Regions from separate parts of the Homo sapiens genome. Here regions 1, 3, 4, 5 and 6 are each linked to region 2. Evidence: promoter capture Hi-C in human tissues and cell types (Jung and others, 2019). All regions are on one chromosome and are shown on one strand. Each heading gives the region's core, a stretch centred on a gene start or on the middle of the fragment in contact. The rest is flanking DNA. Distances are from core to core; before and after follow the strand shown. Region 1 overlaps DYNC1H1 (dynein cytoplasmic 1 heavy chain 1). Region 2 holds the start of ZNF839 (zinc finger protein 839). Region 3 overlaps PPP2R5C (protein phosphatase 2 regulatory subunit B'gamma). Region 4 overlaps PPP2R5C (protein phosphatase 2 regulatory subunit B'gamma). Region 5 holds the start of TRAF3 (TNF receptor associated factor 3). Region 6 overlaps PPP2R5C (protein phosphatase 2 regulatory subunit B'gamma).

What was found. The method cuts DNA at HindIII sites, captures the fragments that hold promoters and counts their contacts. A contact is called where the count stands out against the background at its distance.
Region 1: a contact is called between a fragment that was not itself captured here and the fragment with the promoter of ZNF839 in region 2, in 2 of the 25 tissues and cell types used here (H1 embryonic stem cells and IMR-90 fibroblasts).
Region 3: a contact is called between a fragment that was not itself captured here and the fragment with the promoter of ZNF839 in region 2, in 1 of the 25 tissues and cell types used here (adrenal gland).
Region 4: a fragment that was not itself captured here is called in contact with the fragment with the promoter of ZNF839 in region 2 in 1 of the 25 tissues and cell types used here (lymphoblastoid cells).
Region 5: a contact is called between the fragment with the promoter of TRAF3 here and the fragment with the promoter of ZNF839 in region 2, in 1 of the 25 tissues and cell types used here (thymus).
Region 6: a fragment that was not itself captured here is called in contact with the fragment with the promoter of ZNF839 in region 2 in 2 of the 25 tissues and cell types used here (lymphoblastoid cells and mesendoderm cells).

Annotation. Positions count from the first base shown.
Region 1 is chr14:102,025,337-102,028,036 of GRCh38, forward strand. DYNC1H1 (dynein cytoplasmic 1 heavy chain 1) reads left to right here. Exons shown (of 78, transcript NM_001376.5): 44 at 1,238-1,371; 45 at 1,838-1,952; 46 at 2,047-2,208; 47 at 2,283-2,497; 48 at 2,601-2,700. Among named protein-coding and RNA genes, the nearest start is that of HSP90AA1, 60 kb to the right of the region's middle. RefSeq lists an enhancer at 1,986-2,700. The HindIII fragment of the contact is 7,400 bases long and covers 1-2,700 here.
Region 2 is chr14:102,318,404-102,321,103 of GRCh38, forward strand. ZNF839 (zinc finger protein 839) reads left to right here and starts at 1,343. Exons shown (of 8, transcript NM_018335.6): 1 at 1,343-1,650. The coding sequence starts at 1,363. RefSeq lists silencers at 1,403-1,502, 1,563-1,752 and an enhancer at 1,853-1,962. The HindIII fragment of the contact is 9,233 bases long and covers 1-2,700 here.
Region 3 is chr14:101,916,381-101,919,080 of GRCh38, forward strand. PPP2R5C (protein phosphatase 2 regulatory subunit B'gamma) reads left to right here. Exons shown (of 16, transcript NM_001352913.2): 15 at 1,451-1,567. Among named protein-coding and RNA genes, the nearest start is that of DYNC1H1, 47 kb to the right of the region's middle. RefSeq lists an enhancer at 790-1,445. The HindIII fragment of the contact is 4,410 bases long and covers 1-2,700 here.
Region 4 is chr14:101,857,123-101,859,822 of GRCh38, forward strand. All of the region lies in intron 4 of PPP2R5C (protein phosphatase 2 regulatory subunit B'gamma), which reads left to right. Among named protein-coding and RNA genes, the nearest start is that of PPP2R5C, 97 kb to the left of the region's middle. The HindIII fragment of the contact is 3,562 bases long and covers 1-2,700 here.
Region 5 is chr14:102,776,038-102,778,737 of GRCh38, forward strand. It overlaps TRAF3 (TNF receptor associated factor 3), which reads left to right and starts at 1,412. Exons shown (of 12, transcript NM_145725.3): 1 at 1,412-1,638. RefSeq lists an enhancer at 1-224 and silencers at 935-994, 1,085-1,694, 1,905-1,954, 2,195-2,254. The HindIII fragment of the contact is 12,756 bases long and covers 1-2,700 here.
Region 6 is chr14:101,876,363-101,879,062 of GRCh38, forward strand. The region is part of intron 4 of PPP2R5C (protein phosphatase 2 regulatory subunit B'gamma); the gene reads left to right. Among named protein-coding and RNA genes, the nearest start is that of DYNC1H1, 87 kb to the right of the region's middle. RefSeq lists enhancers at 59-128, 2,347-2,496. The HindIII fragment of the contact is 7,006 bases long and covers 1-2,700 here.

The DNA of each region.
Region 1 (2,700 bases), core at 196-2,695, 290 kb before region 2:
AGAGGTTGCAGTGAGCCGAGATCGCGCCATTGCACTCTAGCCTGGGCGACAGAGGGAGACTCTGTCTCAAAAAAAAAAAAAAATTGCCAGGTATGGTGGCGTGTGCCTATAGTCCCAGCTACTTGAGAGGCAGGAGAATCACTTGAACCCAGGAGGCAGAGGTTGCAGTGAGCTGAGATCAGGCCACTGCACTCTAGCCTGGGTGACAGAGTGAGACCCTGTCTCAAGGAAAAAAAAAAAAAAAAAAAAGATGTATCTTTGAAACTCTTAATCACATTTCTAATTGAGTTTGTGTATTGAGTGAGCAGTGGGTCCGTTTTCAGTTCTTTCCTTATGGACACCCATTATCCCAGCAAAGTTTATTAAATAATAATTTACTCTGCAGTATCTGTCTGTCATCATAGTTTCCCTGTGTGCATAGGTATCCGTTAGTTGTTCTCTGTGCTAAAACCACATGGTCCTGATTATGGTAATAAGTCTGTTTAATAGGGCAGGCCCAGGCCAGGTGCGGTGGCTCACGCCTGTAATCCCAGCACTTTGGGAGGCCGAGACCGGCAGATCACAAGGTCAAGAGATCAAGACCATCCTGGCCAACGTGGTGAAACCCGTCTGTACTAAAAATACAAAAATTACCTGGGCATGGTGGTACGTGCCTGTAGTCCCAGCTACTTGGGAGGCTGAGGCAGGAGAATTGCTTGAACCCAGGAGGCGGAGGTTGCAGTGAGCTGAGATCGTGCCACAGCACTCCAGCCTGGTGACAGAGCGAGGCTACAAAAAAAAAAAAAAAAATAGGGCAGGCCCTCACACCTGGTTCTTTTCTGGAGGGATCTTTCCTGTTCCAAATGAAATACAGAAATGGCTTGTCAGGTTGCACCAGGACAATAAGCACCTCCCACCACTGAGATTTTGACTGGGATTACATTGAACTTATGGATGAGTTTGATGGAACTGGCATTTTTATAGTAGAGTGTTTTTTTCCTCCATGATCATGGTATGTCTCTTCATGTATTGAGGTCCTCTTCATTGCCTTTTGGTGAAGTTCAGTTTTCTCTATAAAAGTTTTTCATGTTTTTAGATCCATTCCTAGTGAATTTATATTTTTTTGCTATGTTATAAATGATACCTTTTTTGTTGCATTTTTAACAGTTTCTTCATGGTATGTGGACATACAGTTGACTTTGGTCTAATAACTAACATTTTTTTCTAAGTAATTTGGGTATTACCTTTTTTTCTATAGGATTACATCCCAGTAGACCAAGAAGAGTTAAGAGATTATGTCAAAGCTAGGCTGAAGGTCTTTTATGAAGAAGAACTTGATGTTCCGCTGGTGCTGTTTAATGAAGTCCTAGACCACGTGCTGAGGATTGACAGGTGGGCTTTTTTGTTGTTACAGCCCCACCTCTCGCCTAAGCTGCTCTTGAGTAAGTGTGTGTGCCGGGTCACACCAGGCCTCATGCTGTCCTACCACCTCCACCTCAGCCTTCTCCACCAAGCAGCTTCCCCCTTCTCTTCTTTCTAAGTCCAGCTTAACCATCCTCAGTTTATCCTAAGCAGAACTTCATTCTTCCTCCCCCAGCACTGCATACCTGCCATAATTATGGCCCTTTGACCTTCTGCTGGAATTGCATTAGTCTCTCATGTCAGTCTAGAGGACAGGACCGTGTCTTACTGGTCTTTGCATTCCTCCTGGACTTCACAAATAACAGTTGCTCAGCAAATGTTTAATATACAAGTTCAAGTTAAAACATGTCCAAAATACTGTAGACACTAGATATGAGTCAAAAGGGGAATGAGGCATTATAAGCCTTAACATTGATCAGTTCTCGTAATGTTTCAGAATATTCCGTCAACCTCAAGGCCACTTGCTTCTGATTGGTGTTAGTGGAGCAGGAAAAACTACCCTGTCTCGTTTCGTCGCCTGGATGAACGGTTTGAGTGTGTACCAGATTAAGGTGCGTCTGGTCGGTGGCCTCTTAATCCCAGCAACAGATGTGTGTGCAGAGCTCAGTGAGTAGGAATGGACCTAACTTGCCTCTGCTTCTGTAGGTCCATAGGAAGTACACAGGGGAAGACTTTGATGAAGATCTACGGACAGTGTTGAGACGTTCTGGCTGTAAAAATGAAAAGATAGCATTTATAATGGATGAATCTAATGTGTTAGATTCTGGATTCCTGGAGCGAATGAATACCCTTCTGGCCAATGGAGAGGTAATTAGGTGACGTGTTGCGTTGCATTACGTGTTACCGGGGGACCAGTAAGTCAGCACTGTGCTGTTTCCCAGGTGCCTGGTCTCTTTGAAGGAGACGAGTATGCCACCTTGATGACGCAGTGCAAAGAGGGGGCACAGAAGGAAGGCCTGATGCTGGACTCGCACGAGGAGCTCTACAAGTGGTTCACTAGCCAGGTTATCCGCAACCTCCACGTCGTGTTCACCATGAACCCGTCCTCGGAGGGACTCAAGGACCGGGCAGCTACATCACCAGCACTTTTCAACAGGTACGTGGGCCTTTACTTGGCTCTGGGTCAGGAAAGTCGGTGTCCTTCCAAGGGACAAAGCCTGCCCCTCATAGCTGTCCTGAAACATGGGCCTCTTTCTCAGGTGTGTGTTGAATTGGTTTGGAGACTGGTCCACCGAAGCACTGTATCAGGTTGGCAAAGAATTCACAAGTAAGATGGATCTGGAGAAGCCAAATTACATC
Region 2 (2,700 bases), core at 93-2,592:
GGGCGGATCACCTAAGGTCAGGGTTTCAAGACCAGCCTTACCAACATGATGAAACCCCGTCTCTACTAAAAATACAAAAATTAGCCAGGCATGGTGGCGGACGCCTGTAATCCCAGCTACTCAAGAGGCTGAGGCAGGAGAACCGCATGAACCCAGGCGATGGAGGTTGCGGTGAGCTGAGATTGTGCCACTGCACTCCAGCCTGGGTGACAGAGTGAGATCTTGTCTCAAAAAAAAAAAAAAATTGTGGTAAGATACCCATAATATAAAATTCACCATTAAAAAATAACACGGAAGGGATCATCGTGAATGCAATGTGAGTATTGATGAGGATGGTGGTGATCTTCCAGAACCTTCTCTGACGCCACCCAGGCCGCCAGCCTTACTTTACCGGCTTCGGCGCTCATCATACTGTGCTGCAAATGCCAGTTTCCTCCTTCCCCCTTGGGAAGTTTCCTCCTTGGGGGTCGGCACCTAGACTGTATACCCCCCAGGGCGGAAACAGCGGTTCACCCACCAGGTGCTTAAGAAGGGTTTGTGGACCAGTGGACCTCCTGCTCTCCCTGGGGAAAGGAGCTGGGACATGTGTACACACCTGCAGCTACAAGATTCGGAGGGCGCACAGAGCCTCAACCGTAAGAAGGAGAGGCGATCAGGCTGAGGAAGATGGGGCAGTGGAGCTGGATGGATAGAGAGAGGGTGGGTTCATTCATTCGTTCACTCATTCGTTTATTCATATTCATCCATCCATCATTCATGCCCTGAGCGTGCGTTGTGTTCTGGGCAGGGCCTGTGCTGGGCACCGATTGTGTAATATATCATCTCTCCCTTCAAGGTGCACCCAATCTGGGTGGGTGGGTAGAGAGAAGCTACGGTGACAAGGCAAAAATTTGGGAAACACTCTCGTTAACAATTCAAACTGTGGTCCCCTCCCAGATGTATAAATCCAAATGTTTAGGGGTGGGCACAGTACTCTGCATCTCCAGACAGCATCCTCCGCTGATTCGGATGCATGATGACGTCAGAACACTTGGATATTGTGGTAACTTTTGGGCCAGGGGCTCTGAAACCCCGAAGACCTCCCCCTGGGAGATCCGGGACAGCTCCCAGAGAAGGTGAGTCTTAAACACATCCGTGACAGGCAATAAGGAAAATAAGGGGGGTCCGCTCTGCTGATCAGCCCTAAGAGCCGCGGCGGTTGTCGGCTGGGGCGGGGCACTCCACGACTTTCCCGGCCAGACACGGTCGCCTTCCTAGGTGTCTTGGCCTGCGAGGCACTCGTAGCCCGCCCCTCTCCTAGGTGACGTACATTGGAGACGCCGTCGCTCAGCGACCCGGGTTCGAGTCCCCGCCTCGGCCGCCATGGCGGATGCGGAGCCGGAGGCTGGGGGCGGCAGCGAGGATGGCGGCGGCGGCGGCGGCCCGGCTCCTCCGGGCCAGAGCGGCAGCGTCGCACGTGTGGCCCCGCTGGGCCCCGAGCAGCTGCGGCAGGTCCTGGAGCAGGTGACGAAGGCGCAGCCGCCGCCGCCGCCGCCCCCCTTCGTGCTGCGGGACGCGGCGCGGCGGCTGCGGGACGCGGCCCAACAGGCCGCCCTGCAGCGGGGCCGGGGCACCGAGCCCCCGCGCCTGCCGCGCCTGCTCCCGCCCCAGGTGAGGCGTCGGGAGGGACGTGGGGAAACTGAGGCCCGAAGGGGGCCGACGCCCCGCGGCGGGGTAGCTGCTTGTCCGGGGAGGCCAGTATCCGCCCGGGTTAAGACTCAGGGCGTCCCCAGGCTGAGCTTCTTAGGGACGGCGTTCGGCCCCCACCTGTCACCACCCTGGCATTTTCACCCCAGGAGCCTCACTCTAGGAGCGGTTGCTCACGCTGGGCCCTGTGCCTGGAACGCCCTCGTGCCTTCTCTGCCTTCACAGCCCTGCTGGGGGCTTTTGCGTGCTCCCTAGCTCTTCTTACAGGCCTTTCACCGCTGGTTCAGCCTTTGTGGAGCACTTAGAGACCGTGTTCCCAGCACTCCCCACTATGTGCAGGAGGTGAAGCCTTGAACACACTTGCTGAAGAACGAACATAAGGCAGGTTCTGGGATTGACGGGGGCTGCTTTAGAGTGGGTGGTCCCGTAGGCCAGACACTGGAGCTGAAACATAAATGAATTAAAAGGAACCAACTTAGCTTTTCAGTTGTAAGGTGCCAAGGCCCAGGCTTGGAACAAAGTCAAGCACAATACACTAGTTCGCTGCAGGACTTAACATCCTGGGTGATAGTGACTGATTTGTAACCGCAGTACCCAGCACAGTGCCTGATACACAATGTTTGGAATATGTGAAAGCACTCTGTATACTACAAAACATCCTTTCCCAGTGGGTTTATTTCCTGGGCCACACACCTTTTGGTTGCTAGGGGGGTGATAACTAGAAGACGGTCGCCCAACTCCGGAGGGTGAAGCATAGCGCCTGAAGCCAGAGGGCCTACACGGCATCTGTAAAATTCCACCCCATTTCAGCGCTGGGGTTGTAAACAAAATTAGTCTCACCCCAAAATTGCCAAAAGAAGACAGCTTTTTCCACTAGAAGAAACGGGTTAGGGAATAGAATCAGGAACCTTCACTCGTTGAGTTTTTTTGACTGATGTTAGCTGCTTAGGGTTGTATCCAGTTAATCATCAAGACTGGAGAGTTGTCTTGCTAAGGTTTAGGAAGACCAGTGTG
Region 3 (2,700 bases), core at 92-2,591, 400 kb before region 2:
AGGCATGGAAGCCAGGGTGAATAAGGAGGGACAGAGGGTGTGGGAAAAGGCCGAAGACAGCCCACAGAGGAAGGAGCCCAAGGCACCTGGAGGAGAGGCTGGGGTCACAGAGACCGAGGGAGGGTGCAGGTTCAGGGCTGAATGATGGCGTCCATGGTCATCATTCCTCAGAGAGGCCCAGTGAGGCAAGGCCGGGAAGGGCTTAGCAGCCAGAGGGCACCCATAGGCCTCATGCCAGAGGTGGCTCCGTCAGAGGATGAGGGCCAACACCAGACGGTGGCTGAGAACGGAGCTGCTCTGGGCTGGCAGGGTGTGAGGGGCAGGGGTGAGGGGGCAGGGGGTGAGAGGCAGGGGTGAAGCAGGTCAGCAGGAGGGCGCTGCTGTGACAGGAGCTCAGCCTGAAAGAGGCCGAAGCTGTGGGACTCACTGGGCAGAGAATGGAGGGGTGTGGATGAGAGCAGCCTGGGCAGGAACCCCCGCTCCCCTCTCCTGAACTCAGAGGCCCTGAGCAAGTTCCCCAGCCCCTCCATGTCCCAGTTCCCCCATCAGCCAGGTGAGGGTGGCAGTACACACACACGACCACGCAGGACAAACAGGCGCCCCACACAGTTCCCAGCTCACAGCAGACACAGATGCCACTTCCTTCGCCTGTGCCCTCAGAGCCAGCAGACGCTCGTCACAGTCATACTGTCCTGTGCACCCTGTCTCATGGAACCCTCACAGCCACCCTCCGGGGTGACCTTACCCCCGCACTACACTCATGGAAATGGAGTCAACCAGGCCCAGTGACTGAGGGCTGAGCCATCTGTGTTTCAATCCAGAGCACAGGGAGAGTGGAGAAGTCCCAGGGCCGCCCGTAGGGAATGGAGAGGGAGCGTCAGGCTCACCCAGGCTGCGTTTGTTTTGGTGGAGAGCAAGTCACCCGGGATGTGATGAGAGGGTTTCATAAGCAAGCCGGGAAAATGGGATAAAGGGGAGAGAGAACCGTGCCAGCTGTCTCGATGAGAGGACATGATCGTGAGAGGAAAGGGAAAAGAATCATGAGGTTGGAGGTCGCTGGCAAAGAATGGGCGGCCAGAGGTGAGGGTTCCAGTGGTGAGACAGCTCCCACCACCGAGCCCAGGGTGCGACCTCGCACTTGGCTGCTCACGTGGAGTCAGAACTGCAGAGGCCATGGGGTGTGGGCCAGGGTATGGGCGGGCCACTGTCCATCAGATGCAGAGGGGTCAGGAGGGGACCAGCTGCTTTACTGTCTCCACTGAGTGCTTTCTGGTTTCAGAAGTCAGCAGCCGCATCATGTTGCAGGTGTAGGCGAGTCTCCCACTGAGTGGGCTTCCTGCGGGAGAGGGCCCTGGGGGGCGGCAGGGGAGATGAGTCCCTAGCCAGGATGAGAAGCTTGGAGTTCAGAGCCTGGGCACCTAACAGAGCGACTCCACGCTTTGCATTGCAGTACACAGTGTATAGTCAAGCCAGCACCATGAGCATTCCGGTTGCAATGGAGACAGATGGGCCTTTATTTGAAGATGTGCAGATGCTGAGAAAGACAGTGAAGGACGAGGCTCATCAGGTAAAAGTGCACCGAGCTCAGCTGGGCACCCATGACTGATTTGCTTAAGAAATGCACATTTTTGTAGGCGATGTGATTTGCATCAGTGCCTTCTGTTTAAGCTGAAATTAAAACTTAAATTTTGCTAGTCTTATAGGAAACATTGTATCGATAGATCTTAGTGATCAAATTACTAGAAACAGTTTTTAAGGATTAAGTATGTGCCTGAGATGTGTATCTCCATTTACTAACAGCAGTAGTAATCCCAACTCTTAACTGTTCTTTAAATGTTCACTCCAGCAAAATCGAAAGCTTCACAGCCATATCCACCCCTCGCTGTTTTCTTCACAGCCCTCTGGCTTCTGCTTCGACCCAGAGAGGCTCCCTTAGCTCTTCACAGCGGGTGCTAACAACCCCTCTCCCTAGGACACCTCACCCTCCTTGCCCCTCCCCCTGTCCCCTCACCCCCTTGCCCCTCCCCCCTTGCCCCCTCACCCCCCTCGCCCCGTCCCCTTCCCCCCTCACCCCCTTCATCCCCCTCGCTCCTCTGGCCCCCCACCCCTCCCCCCACCCCTCAGCCTTCTCCCCTCGCCCCCCTCATCCCCCTCGCTCCTCTCGCCCCCCCACCCCTCCCCCCACCCCTCAGCCTTCTCCCCTTGCCCCCCTCATCCCCCTCACTCCTCTCGCCCCCCCACCCCTCCCCCTCTCCCCCCTGACCCCCCTCGCCCCCCTCGCCCCCTCCCGGGCACTGTCTTTCAGTGCTTTGGTCACAGGCCACCTCCAAAGAGAGCCTCCGACCACTGTTACTCCTCAGCTGGGCCTGTAGACACTTAGGACAACTGACTCAGTTCCTGCCTGGGTTCAAGGAGCGTTTCAGCTGCCGTGTTTCCCTGAGCGTCCCTCCCTGTTTCAAATGCCTGTAAACTAAAACAGTAGTCCCAAATGGCCTGGGGACATTGGCCTTTCTCACTGAGAAACTTTAACCTCTTTTTGACCAGCGAAAGAATTCCAAAAGACATCCCCTTCTAAAATTCTGAGGTAAGAAGTGAAAGTAGGCGCCCCGCCTGTGGAGTAGCCATTGTTTTACTCCTTTACTGCATTAAATAAAATATGTTGTTTGAATGAATGCCCCCCATTTCTTTTTTACTTCTTGA
Region 4 (2,700 bases), core at 72-2,571, 460 kb before region 2:
TAATCCTCACAACTACCCTATGGAGTAGAAGTGTTAGAATTTGTATTTCTATTTATTATTTTATCTTCTTTAAATTTTTTTAAAACATATTTAACATTAATATACTAGTGCCTTTTTATAGTTCAGAAGTAAACATTTTGTCCATCCATGTGCAGGAAAATTCTAATGATGGGATGGAGTTGAAATATTGACAGAACCAAGCTGGTGTCAGAATAGTTCATGCTGATTGGCTGAGAAGGCCTCCACCTGTCAGTGCTGGGATCAGGACAGCCCATGCTGATTGGCTGAGAAGGCCGCCACCTGTCAGTGCTAGGATCAGGACAGCCCATGCTGATTGGCTGAGAAGGCCTTCCTCTGTCAGTGCTTCCTCTGTCATTCCTCTATCAATGACAGTATGTCCTGACTGGCTGAAATAGTCTTATCATCCTGCAGTTAGTTCACTGTTGGTTTTATTCAGCCCCCAGATCTCAGTCCTCTGAAGTGTCAAACTTTACAGCCCATTCCTCAGTCAGTACCACCTGGAAACACTTCATTCAGTGCCATTACCAAAATTCATTGTTTGACGCTGAAATCCAGTTTTCTGTTGATTTTTCTTGAATTGTTGATATTTTATCTGCCTTTGAAACTAGTACCCCCCACACACACACTTACTGGGGAGTCAGTGTGGCTTAGTGTAAAATGTTAAGTCCAATTTTCATTGAACTCTTTGTTAAGTTACTGATTTTTTTTTCCAAAGCTATATATTTCAGAATTGACTGGACTTCTTGACCTAAAATACTTTTATTTCCTTCTTTAGTATGTTTGCTTTGGAAAAAGATGAAAGTAATGTTCTTCGTTGTAGTTCAGTCTACTGTGTCAGAGGTTGAGATCAACTTGATTGTTTTAACTTGTTGTTTTTAACTCTTAAAGTTCAGAATTCACTGGCATGGCTACCATGTAGTCGGCCTAAGGACTACAAAGGCCATGCGGGTTCCTGTCCCAGACTTGTGCCTGAAGAAGAGTAATAGGCATAAACTGAGCAGAGAATATATACCCTAAAACCTTACCTGTTCAGACTAATGACACTTGGGGAATAGCTTTTTTCTTTCATTAATTTTAACTCTCAATTACTTTGGAGGCCCACTCTAGCCCCAGAATCATAAAAATCTCTAATATTTTCTCCTATTACTTTCATAATTTTGTTTTGCGCATCACATTTTATAATCTTTTTTCTTTTAGGTATGGATATGTAATAGTTGTACATATTTATGGAGTATATGTGATATTTAGGTAGAAGCATAGAATCCGTAATGATCAAATCAGGGTAATTGGGGTTTCCATCACCTCAAGCGTTTATCATTTCTTTGTGTTAGGAGCATTCCAGTTTTTTTGTTTGTTTGTTTTTTGTTTTTTGTTTTTTTTTATGATGTGGGTTAGGGATAGAACTTCATTTTCTTTTAAATTTATTTTCTTCTAAAATTATTGAAAAATTATTTCTCCCTACATCATGTATTGACTATTTCATTTCCCCCTATTGCTTAATGCTTCCTTATTATGTGTTCATTTTATTTTACTGTATGTTAGATTTATAAGTATATAAATTCTATATTAAGTTTACACGTGTGGAAGATTTTCCTATGTTTAAGAAAGTCTCTGATTCCCACTCTTTAACCTAAGAGGGAAGAATCTACAAAGAATGACAAGACTCCCGCTGGCCTGGTTCAGGTCAAATGCCCGCCCTTGAACCGAGTGTGCTCCCGACTGCTTGAAACCGCCTCTCGTTTGTATTTCACAGTAGCAGTGTGGGTTACTGGCACCACTTAGGATACTTAAAAGCCCTTGAGGCTGTTTTTATAGATTAAGTCATCATTGCCTCTCCTCTCCCTGTCATAATTGTTTCCTAACTTGATTCTCCTCCTGCTGTATTAACTTGTTTCCCACCCAAACCTCGCGCTGGGCTCCAGAGCGTTGCCAGCCCCTGGGCTCCCTAAGCAGTAAGCAGACACTGAGCATCCATCATGGGCCAGGCACGTTTTGGGGTGAGGAAATAGAATGGCGAACAAGACTTCTGCCCTCCTAAAGCTTTCATTTTCACCTAAAGCTTTCATTTTCACGTGGGAGACAACCATAAAATAAGCCAACCAATAATTTTCATTTTAGATTACGGTGATGCCGTGAATAAAAGTAATCCAGATGAAATAGATAGGGTTGCAAGACTGGGAATGTGATTTCTGCCTTATGCCCACGTGGGCGGGAAGAAGGCGCAGAGTGGAAACTGGGTGATGAATTAGACTGTCCTGTGAAGATGGGCACACATGAGATGCTGTCTGTGGTCACTGTGAGAGCAGGGGACATTTTCTTTCCTTTCTGCTCTAAGTTCAGAAGGCAACATAGCCTTTCCCTACCCCTTGTTTGTCTGGATCTGGAGGTAGAATAGGGGATGGGGACAGATTGGATTTTTGGTTTTGTTGTTTTGTTCTGTAGCTAGAGGGCATTGATGAGAAGTATAGTGAAAGAAGGAAGAACACAGGCGGTGGGGTGGTGCCTGGCCTTGGTTTGTGACCCTCTTGTCAAGAATTTAAGCAACCAGTACAAGGCCTCTGTCCCAAGCAGTGCCTGGGCCTGGTGTGGCAGGCAGCAAAAGCCTGGGCCTCTTTGTGGTTCACGTCTGATGAGAAGCTCTGCAGCTTAGAGCCCCTGTGTGCCCAACACTTAAGCAGC
Region 5 (2,700 bases), core at 162-2,661, 460 kb after region 2:
TGTCACCTCTAAAAGAGCTGTGCCTGTGGCGCAGACGGGGGTGCCACTGTGGCCTGGTGAGTGTGGCTGTAGAACAAGCATCTGTTGGGCTAATGGAGCCAGAGACATGGTCCAATGTCTCTGATGTCCAGATAGACTTCCAGCAGCCAGGTCGGACTATCTGGGGTTCTGGAACGTTCCATGGGTGAAGCTGTAGGAGGAGATGCTGGACTTCCTGCCTCCACTCACATGAGTCACTGGAGCAATACAAGAAGGCAGACTGGCCTTGGCTACTCACACTGGTCTCAGCTCTGGGGTAGGGCTCTTTATAAGCCTTCTTGAGAAGTGAAAAATGCAAAGTCCTTTCTGTCCCCTCACCACTGACTTGCAAACTCCAGCGAAGGCCTCACCCCTCAGCTGGCCCAGAGCCTCCCAGAAGCCCTCCCTTCGCTTCCCACCTCGCCAGGCCCAGCCAGGCTGGGTGCTGCCTTGGTGGGCCTAGGTGAATCACTGACACACCACTGATGCCTTTGGGGCAGAAGGCAGAGGCCTCGGGAGAAATGCGCAGGCCCCAGCGGCCTGGTGGAGGGTGCAGGGGGCGCAGGGGCAGCCAGGACCGCCGAGGACGCTGGGGGCACGTGGCAAACTGGCTACCCTGTCCACCCGTGAGCAAGACACCACTCCGGGGGCGTGGGAGGGTCCAAGGGAGGGAGAAAGGAAAGTGCCACCAAACTAATGTGGAGCCCTGCCCTCTGCATGCGAAAAGGGGCTCCACGGCCTGAGTCACCCTCAGCCCCACCTGCGTGTGCGCGAGGGTGCGTGGCCTGGTACGCGTGCGCACGGTGTTGGTGAGCGTGTGTGTGCGTGTCCGCTTGAGGGGAATGTGACCGTCGTGTATGCGTCCGCGACAGTGCGGGGGGCCGCATATCGGACCCGTGCGTGTGCGTAGGGGTCGCGTGTGGCCATGGGCACACGGGCGTGCACGCACGGGGGCTGCGTATGCTATGCTGGCGTGGGGGGTGCGGGCGAGGTGGCCGCGGGGAGGAGCGGCGCCAGCACCTCTCGGCCCCCACGCGGCCTGCGTGGCTTTTTGACCCGGAAAGGCGGGGACGCGGGGACGCGCGGCGGCGGGGGCGCGGCGGGGGCGGCGCAGAGCGAGGAGGCCCGCGGGGCGCGCGGCGGGGACGGGAGGGAGGCGGGGGGCGCCCGGGGCCGTCCCCGCCCCGCGCCGCGGCGCCGCCGTTGCTAAGGCCGGGCGGGCGGCCGCCGGGCGCTAGGGCCCTTAGCAACGGGTCGCGGGCGCGCGCGGGGGGCCGGCGGGCGCGTGGGGCCGGCGGCGCTCGCGGGCTCCTGCCGCTCCCACGCGCGCGGGCGGCGGGGGCGGGGCGGCGGGCGCGCCGGGGATTTCCAGCGCGCGAGAGGAAGTGCCTGCGCGGGGCTGCGTGAGGGAGCGAGGGAGCGAGGGAGCGCGGCGCGGCCGCCGCGTGCGCGAGCCGGGGTTGCAGCCCAGCCGGGACTTTCCAGCCGGCGGCAGCCGCGGCGGCCGCCGGCTCTTCCCCGCCCCCCGCCATGGGGCAGCCCGGGGAGCAGAACGCTGCGGACCGCGGCGGAGGACGCGCCCGGCGCCCCTGAGCCGGCCGAGCGGCGACGGACCGCGAGGTAAGGGGCCGCGGCGGGCGGGCGGGCCTCCGGCGCGCGGCCGGGCGCCTCCATCCCCGTCGCCTCCATCCCGCGCCCTGGGCGGCGGGGCCCGGGGGCCTCGGGGCTGCCCGGCGCGGGCCCGGCGCGGCGCAGGCCCGGCCCGTCCCAGCGGCGACGGCGGGGCGCGGCTTCAGCCTGGCCCCGCGCCCCAGCCGGGCTGCCTCCCGCCTCCGGACGCCTCAACTTCGGCAAACTTTGTCCCGGAGGCCGGGCTCGGGGCCCGAGGGGGCCGGGGCGCCCGCACCTTTTCAGGAAACGGGGCGCGCAGGCCTCGCTACGGCCGTGACCCCCGCTGGCGTTGAGGACCCGGCACCCCGCGGGGCCGCGGGTTTCACGCGGGGGGACGGGCGGCTCAGGGGCTGCGTGGCCGAGCGCGCTGCCCGGGCCGGCCGGGGGGGCCCGGGCGTTATTGGAAAGTTGGTCCTGAGTCATTCCGCCTCAGAGGCGCCTCCGACCGCTTGGCGGGCGGCGCGGGGGTCCGGGTATGGGCAGAGGGCGCGAATCCCCCTCGCGCGGCCGCCGAGGGCCGGCGACTCCCGGGGCACCGGGCGGCTCCTGGCCGCGGGCTCTGCGTCTTCCCCGCGGGCGCCAGGCGGCTCTCGGCGGGCTGGCCGGTTCCACGCCGCCAGCCAGCCCCGTGTGGGGACTTCGGTCTAGTATTTGGACCCGAGGAGATAATTCTGTGTGGAAAATTCTCTCCCTTCGGTTGGAAACAGTAACAAACTGGAAACGGATGAGGTGTTATGGACGTGCTTGGAAATGCAAGAAACCTTCAGATTACGAGCTGTTGACGGGACCAGTTGTATTTCACGTTTTTCGAATTAAGCTCAGAATCAGTTTTCAGAATGACATGTGATGCGTGGTGCGTGGTGTGTGTGCCTGTGTGTGTGTATGGATATAATTCATTCATTTTTGTGGCGTCAGAAAGGTTATGTCGAGCGTTGTAGCGGCTTCTTAATTTACATTCACGGCATACAACTGAAGAGGAGCCATTATTTATTTTTTTTCCTAGCATTTGCT
Region 6 (2,700 bases), core at 126-2,625, 440 kb before region 2:
TGTAAATAATCAAACCTTTCTTTCCTGTTGCCTCTAAAGTTAGACTGTCAGCGGTTTTTTTTTTTAATGTATCCCTTCATGTCTTAAAATTTTTATATGTTACACTGCTGCAGTTATGTTACGGCATAAATATTCACTCATTGGTAATGAATGATAACACATACAGAAAGGCTGCATGATATTGCTGAATTGTAAGAATTTTCCGTAAAGTTGCTTCTTGGGCCATTCTAGTTTACATCTAATTTAATAAATTTAGCAATTTGGAGAACATCTGCAGGACTGATGTAAGTACTGAAAGTGGAAGTGTCAGGGAGGCAGCAGAAGCAGGTGCTTCCTGATATTAACCAGAGACGGTCCTGGCACAGATGGGGCCGTGTGAATCACATGCAGACATACGTATGCACTCACGTGCGTGCCATTATTTTCATGTGGAGGTCAAACAGTCAGAAACGTTTGGGAAGTGCTGTGTAATGCTAACTGTTCGTGCATAATGTTTTCCCATTTAGTAAGTGCTGTTGCATGTGTTTTCTGTGATTCTCACCACAGCCCAATGCAAAAAATAAAAAAAGGATTTACGCTTTTTTTTTTTTTTTTTTTTTTTTTTGAGATGGAGTCTCACTCTATTGCCCAGGCTGGAGTGCAGTGGTGCAATCTCGGTTCACTGCAACTTCCACCTCCCAGATTCAAGTGATTCTCCTGCCTCAGCCTCCCGAGTAGCTGGGATTACAGGCACCCACCACCACACCCAGCTAAGTTTTGTATTTTTAGTGGAGATGGGGTTTCACCATGTTGGCTAGGCTGCTCTTGAACTCTTGACCTCAAGTGATCCACCCGCCTCGGCCTCCCAAAGTGCTGGGATTACAGGCATGAGTCACCGCGCCTGGCCTTTACCCTTTCCAATGGAGGAGAAAATTGAGGCTCAGGCAGGCTGTTTGGTCTGAGGTCCTTCTTCTAGGTGGGAAGAGGGTGTAGAGAGACTGTTTCCATGAGGCTGTGCTGCCTTTGTTGGGCAGCGTGATTCTGCGTCTGTGCCTCTGGGTGTGCGCTGGATCCGTAGGTCTCATTTGAGAGATCACAGTGACCCTGTGTGCTGCCCAGAAGACCCGGGACTCCTTAGACCTCAGAGCTTCTTTGGTGTTCACTGCATAACGTTGATGTCTTCTCTGTTTCCTCAGACCGGATCCATGCATCCAGGTAGCATGGCAGTGACATTTGCACACAGACATCAGCACCCCAGGTTTCTGTACCTGGGGCTCCTGCCCCTGATTCGCCCCTGCAGCTTTTGTGTTAAGAAATGTTGCTAGGTCAGAAACCCAAGAAGAATTTGAGGTGATAGACCGTTGGCCCTCTGTTCCTTCCCCCCGCCCCAGTATTACTTTTTACTTAACCTTTTCTAGAGATATGCACTAAATTAATGCAATGTAATGTGGTAAGAAAGGTGTGTAGAAGTTAGGAGTGCAAGTTTTTTTCCTTACACATGAGAAATGACTTTCAATCAATCAGAATTGGCCTGGAATGAACCTTCCCGGACCTAGGTCGGTCATCAGTCAAGGACGCTGTATCAGTCTGCTCAGGCTGCCGTAAGAAAATACCACAGGCTGGTGGCTTAAACCACAGAAATGTGTCTTCTCTCCATTCTAGAGGCTGGAAAGTCTAAACTCAAGGGTGTAGCAGGGTTTGTTCCCTGCTGAGGGCCTTTTCTGGCTTGCAGACGGCCACTGTGCCCTCCCATGGCCTTTGCTCCGAGCAAGTGCAGAGAAGGCGAGTGTGAGCCTTCTACCATCCCTCCTTACAAAGACACTAATCCTGGAGGGCCAAGGCCCCACTTATGACTTCATTCACCCTTCATTATTTTCTCTGAGGACCCATCTCCAAATCCAGCCACACCAGGGTTTAGGTCTTTAACATGAATGTGAGGAAGGGAGGCCACAAGCATTGAGTCCATGACAGACACTGAAAAGAGGACATTGTGTTCAGAGCAAGCCATCTGAGTCACCTTGCAGGCCCTCAGCTCAGCATCAAGGATTCAGTGAGTGTGCAGGTGTTTGAGACGGGGCCTAGCTGCTGGGCTGACTGTCACTGTGCGGGAGAGCTTCAACTGGAAACCCTAATCACTAGCTTTCCTGCTAGTAGAAACCACCAGTTTACTTAGGAATCTCAGCTGACTGGGTGCCTCAGTCAGGGCTGTGCAGAGAAACAGCAGGAGAGACAGAGATTGAGATCTCAAGGACTTGCCTTCTGCAGTGGGTGAGTCCAGCGGGCAGGTCTGGACTCCGTGGACAGGCAGCGGGCACGAGACTTGGCCGTGGTGGACACTGCAGGCCGCAGGTGGACTCTCCTCAGAGAAGCTGCAGTTTGGGTCTCACAGGCCTCTCAGCTGACTGGTTGAAGCCCCCACATTCTCAAGAGTGATCGCTACTTGAAGTCCATTGATTATAGGTGTTAACCACATCTATAAAATGCCTTCACAGGAACACCCACAGCAGTGTTTGGACAGCTGGGCACTGTGGCCTAGCCGGGTTGACACATACGGCCAGCTGGCACAGTCGGGGACATTTTACTTTTTTTCAGTTATCGCCTTTAACCACGATGGGTGAAATCACACTTTCCTGTGCCTAAATAACATCTTAGGCAAGTTGGTTAACTTCTTAGTCATCCCTGGTCACAGAAATCCAATCTAGGTTAAAGCTTTCATCTCAG